2 separate regions of the Homo sapiens genome follow, and region 2 is linked to region 1. The links are contacts of gene promoters, found by promoter capture Hi-C in blood cells and fetal thymus (Javierre and others, 2016). All regions are on one chromosome and are shown on one strand. The core of a region is centred on a gene start or on the middle of the fragment in contact, and the rest is flanking DNA. Distances in the headings are between cores, read along the strand shown.

What was found. Contacts are between HindIII fragments. The CHiCAGO score rates a contact against its expected background, and 5 or more counts as called.
Region 2: the fragment with the promoter of RPS6KB2 here is called in contact with a fragment that was not itself captured in region 1 in 1 of 17 cell types (naive CD8 T cells); the score reaches 5.2 in naive CD8 T cells.

The regions. Positions count from the first base shown.
Region 1 is chr11:67,253,056-67,255,755 of GRCh38, forward strand. KDM2A (lysine demethylase 2A) reads left to right here. Exons shown (of 21, transcript NM_012308.3): 19 at 398-556; 20 at 1,148-1,363; 21 at 1,819-2,700. The coding sequence ends at 2,000. Among named protein-coding and RNA genes, the nearest start is that of GRK2, 12 kb to the right of the region's middle. RefSeq lists enhancers at 444-1,643, 1,100-1,600, 1,601-2,101. The HindIII fragment of the contact is 5,283 bases long and covers 1-2,700 here.
Region 2 is chr11:67,427,044-67,429,743 of GRCh38, forward strand. RPS6KB2 (ribosomal protein S6 kinase B2) reads left to right here and starts at 1,451. Exons shown (of 15, transcript NM_003952.3): 1 at 1,451-1,580; 2 at 1,939-1,979; 3 at 2,077-2,197; 4 at 2,484-2,552. The coding sequence starts at 1,503. RefSeq lists enhancers at 995-1,144, 1,161-1,928, 1,245-1,494, 1,929-2,696. The HindIII fragment of the contact is 16,232 bases long and covers 1-2,700 here.

The DNA of each region.
Region 1 (2,700 bases), core at 91-2,590:
CAATCACTGCAATGGACAGCAAAGAGAACGGAATCAGTGTTGCTGCCAGCCCTGCAGTTCTCCTCAGCATAACCACTAAAGAGGAAATTTGAGTCAGATGTTACTTTGGTCAGCTCCTTATAAGCCCTTGTTCTCTTCAGCATTTTGAGCTCTTAGAAAGACAGGAAGTCACTCCTTCTTGTATTGCTCTGGTGGGAACTAAGCAATCAATTTACCACTAAAGCTAGAAGATGTAGTATAGGATACCATGGAAATCTTTGAGCTGGATGACTAAAAGATTAGGCATAGTCCTTCTCTCCTATTAGACTGGAAGTTTGTTCACTTTGCTCAGATCGTTACGGCTCTGAGTATGCTGGGAAACAGTGTATTATTACATGTCTCATTCCATCCATTGCAGGACTGAAAGACCTCCTCCTAGCAGGCTGCTCCTGGTCTGCAGTCTCTGCCCTCAGCACCTCCAGCTGCCCCCTTCTCAGGACCCTTGATCTTCGGTGGGCAGTAGGAATCAAGGACCCTCAAATTCGGGACTTGCTTACTCCACCGGCTGATAAACCAGGTATGCTCTGGACCTGACTTCTCTGTGCTTGTCTTGGGGTAGCTTTGTCTTCCAAACAGACCTCGTCTTCAGAAGCTAAGGTAGTCTCAGATATGACGCTGTGGAAGAATAGAAGAGCACAAAATGAAAACAGAATGATGGACTGTGTACAAGAATAGGGTAACTATAAGCAGATAACTACCTACAAACAATGGAGTAAGTCCATTTTGTGAGTTGGTGGAGTTTGGGGCCCAGAGAGTGTAAGCCTGAAAAAGTCTGAGAAGGCTTTATGGTGGAGGTGGAGTCAAAAGCTATTTGCATGATGGTCTAGAAAAGTGTGGTGGTATTGGAAGGGGAGGAGCATTCTGCACATAGCCTTTTGCTGTGTGCATGAGGCATAATCTAGCAGCTTGAGAAGAAAGAAAACTTGTCTGGTTTCCTAGAAACTGCCTACACCCAGTGCTCACACCCTGAAGGCATGGCTGGGTGTGGGCAGTTCTACTTAACCCCTTCAAGGGGGCCTGGCCAGCAAGTAGCTGTTGCTGCCTGGAGCCTTGAAGCTGGATTAGAGAATTGAGAGTTTTGATCTAGGCTCTTCTCTTGCCTGTACAGGTCAGGACAATCGCAGCAAGCTCCGGAACATGACCGACTTCCGGCTGGCAGGCCTTGACATCACAGATGCCACGCTTCGCCTCATAATTCGCCACATGCCCCTCCTGTCTCGACTCGACCTCAGTCACTGCAGCCACCTTACAGATCAGTCCTCCAATCTACTCACTGCTGTCGGGTCTTCCACTCGCTACTCTCTCACAGAGCTCAATATGGCAGGTATGCCGCTACAGTTGTTCATAATCAGCGGTGCCCCCTGCCTCCAGCCCTCCCTGGAACTTGATCAGTAAACCAGAATGACCTTGGGTCTGTTGATTGACCCACATCAGCTCATTTCTTCACATCTGGACAAGGACATGGATTTCTATCCCTTTTTTAACTGATGGGGGACTGAGGCCTTGAGTAGTTAAGTCGGTTGCCTGTCTGCGCAGCCAACATCCAGCTGGAGTTTGGTCAGCCTTGCAGCCCTTGTGCTTGTTGTCATATGGTGATGGGAGTGAGGCAGCAGGGTCCCTTTGGAGGTGCTGATGGCACTTCTGGTCTCTGAGCCAGGTAGTTGTGGGACAAAGAGGGCTTTTGTTTAGCATTTTGAAGGAAAGACGGCTACAGGAATTGAATGGCAGAGGAAAGCTGTGTGTATGTGAGCACTGTCATTATGTCCACTTTCCCGACAGGTTGCAATAAATTGACAGACCAGACCCTGATCTACCTACGGCGCATTGCCAACGTCACCTTGATCGACCTTCGAGGATGCAAGCAGATCACTCGAAAAGCCTGCGAGCACTTCATCTCAGACTTGTCCATCAACAGCCTCTACTGCCTGTCTGACGAGAAGCTGATACAGAAGATCAGCTAAGACACACCCAGCCCAGATTCAACAGGAAACCGATCTTCCCCTGACTCCCCACCGAGGAGAGCCTCTCCTCGACCCTGCACGGGCTCTGAGGCCAGCGTCACACTCCCTCTCTGCTCTCCTGTCCCTTGAGCCCTTCCTCTACAGGTGGGGCAGAGAGGGTGGTGGACACCAGGCTTATCTGCCTGCTCCTCTCCCTCCTAAGGAAAAGGGAGTAGCAGATTGATCTGAGGGGAAAGCACAGGCTGTGCTGTCGAGGCGCCTGCTCGCTTACTCGCCTGCCAGGAGGCCGGGCTCTCAGTTTGGGGTGTTTGTGCAACCTTCATCTGCACTGGGCCCTGTGCCCCTCCTCCCCATCCATGGTCCCCAGCAGTGCCTGGTTCTGAGCAAACTCCCAGGGAAGAAAACGGCCCTGTCTCCATGGCCAGGTTCTTGTGGTGTCCAGTGCGCGTCTCTCCTCCATCACACTCTCCCGGCTTGCGCAGGAGGGGCCAGCAGCCCCAGGAGTCCCAGACCCGTGCCGATCACACTGGTGCTGTTGAGATCTCCCAAACCTCACGTCCTTAACTGTGCTCTCCCTCCTTTCCTCTCCCTTGAGCTTGGTTCTGCCCAGCACTCGTGCTTGTTCACATAATTAGGTTTCCCACCCCAGCCTACCCGACTTACTTGCTAGTCTCTATGAGGTCCTTATTGCACTTATTGG
Region 2 (2,700 bases), core at 201-2,700, 170 kb after region 1:
AAACAAAACAAAGAAAAAAAAACCATAAAGTTTTTTTTTTTTTTTTTTTTTTTTTTTTTTTTTTTTTTAAGATGGAGTCTCGCTCTTGTTGCCCAGGCTGGAGTACAATGGCATGATCTTGGCTCACCGCAACCTCCGCTTCCCAGGTTCAAGTGATTCGCCTGCCTCAGCCTTCCCGAGTAGCTGGGATTACAAGCATGCACCACCATGCCCAGCTAATTTTGTGTTTTTAGTAGAGACGGGGTTTCTCCATGTTGGTCAGGCTGGTCCTGAACTCCCGACCTCAGGTGATCCGCCTGGCTCGGCCTCCCAAAGTGCTGGGATTACAGGTGTGAGCCACCGTGACCAGCCAGGTTTTCGGGTTTTATCTGTTTGAGACTTGGTCTCACTCTGCCGCCCAGCCTGGAGCGCAGTGGTGCAATCTTGGCTCACTGCAACCTCTATCGCCCGAGTTCAAGCGATTCTCCTGCCTCAACCTCCCGAGTATCTGGGAGTACAGGTGCGCGCCACCACACCCGTCTAATTTTTTGTATTTATAGTAGAGGCAGAGTTTCATCATGTTGGCCAGGCTGGTCTCCAACTTCTGACCTCAAGTGATCCACCCACCTCGGCCTCCGAAAGTGTTGAGATTACAGGTGTGAGCCACCGCCTCCGGCCTGTTTGTTTTTTTGAGACAGGATCTCACTGTGTCACCCAGCCTGGAGTGCAGTGGCACCATCATAGCTCACTGTAACCTTGAACTCCTGGCCTCAAGTGATCCTCCCAACTTGGCTTCCCAAAGTGCTACGATTACAGGCGTGAGGCATCGTGTCCGGCCTCAACAACGTTTTTTGAAGTGTCTATTCTGTACCAGGTGCCTAAATGTGCTTAAATTAAGAAGGGAGTAAACGCCAACAAAATCCCATATTTACAGGTCTATCACTGACCCCCAAAACCCTATTTAAGGCGGGAACCTGGCAACATAGCCTGGCAGTGAGCTGGCCACTCAGTAAATGCTCCGATTTGCAGGGTCCTCGAGCCAGAGGCACTTTGAGGAGACCCTGATGCAGCCGCCTCCCTTTCTGGAGTGAACCGAAAGCAACGCGACCTGCCTTTCATCACGCAGCCGGCCTGGCAGTACCCGTCTCCAACAGGGCTGGGGATTGCATTTACATTCACACCTGCATACACTTCCGACCCTGCTCCATCCAAACTCAAAACACCGTAGAACCAAAACGGGCTCCCAGAAAGCCTTGCTGGGAAGACCGAGGGTCCTGCGGAAAGGATTCTGCAGGCTGAAGGCTAGGCGCCTCGCCACTCTAGGACTACAATTCCCGAGAGGCCTTGCGACGGAAGCCATCTTTGTTCCCCACCAGGCTAAGCGATTTTCCGGAGGGGGAGTAAGATCCCTTGCGTCACCGGCGCGCGCAGCTGCCGTCGCGGAGAGATGATGTTTAGGTCCGGGACTGTCAGTCAGTGCGCGGCCAGGTACGGGCCGACGGGCCCGCGGGGCCGGCGCCGCCATGGCGGCCGTGTTTGATTTGGATTTGGAGACGGAGGAAGGCAGCGAGGGCGAGGGCGAGCCAGAGCTCAGCCCCGCGGTGAGTGCCCTGCCCTGGCGCGACTGGATCCTGGAGCCGATCCTGTCACCCAGCCGAGGCCGGAGCGGCGGCTCCGCACGCCCAGAGCGGGCTCCGACTCTTTGCAGACCCAGATCCTTCTCAGATCCCGGTCTCTATTAAGTTCTGATCCCACCCTCACCCCGACCTCTCTTCCAGAACCCCAGCCTTTTCTCCCGATTCTCCCTTTCCTGCCTTCGGTTTCTTCCCAATTCTTACCCATCCCCTACTAGCTGCCATCCCTGACACCCTTCTCTCCTGGGCCACGCAGTCCAACCTGAACGGGAGCGGGGAGGTATCCTGGCACCTTCCTTGGCTCTTACCCCTCGGTTTCTCACAGGACGCATGTCCCCTTGCCGAGTTGAGGGCAGCTGGCCTAGAGTGAGTGAGGGTCGTGTTGGGGGAGGGGGGAATGGAGTGGGGAAGGGGAACTGGGGAGCACTGGAGCCTTGTCCTCATTAACTCCTTGTGTCCGTAGGCCTGTGGGACACTATGAAGAGGTGGAGCTGACTGAGACCAGCGTGAACGTTGGCCCAGAGCGCATCGGGCCCCACTGCTTTGAGCTGCTGCGTGTGCTGGGCAAGGGGGGCTATGGCAAGGTAGGGGCGGGCGCACCCTCCTCCTGGCCTCACAGCCTCCATCTGGAGGCAGCAAAGGGTTCTCAAAACAAATTAGACTTGTGAATCAGCAGGGCCTCTAATGGGATTCAGAGCCAGAAACATAAAGGAGGGAAGGCCAAATCCTCTCCAATCGGACTTGAAATCTTCACTGCCCCACCCTTGGCAGGGCCTAGGCCTCCTGATCCCAAAGCCAGAGCTTCAGGGTGGGGCTTCTTGAAGATAGGATGTGGAGAGGGAAGTTGATCCTGTCTCCCCTGCCCTACAGGTGTTCCAGGTGCGAAAGGTGCAAGGCACCAACTTGGGCAAAATATATGCCATGAAAGTCCTAAGGAAGGTGAGTCACTCGTTCAGCCAACGAATACTGTGTGGCTGCCATTCCCAACATGCTGTACCAGGCTTTGGGAAGACAGCAGGGAACACAGTGGAGGAGGATCCCTGACTTTGGCGTTTGCTGGTTTATTGTCTGTTGTGATGTGTATTGT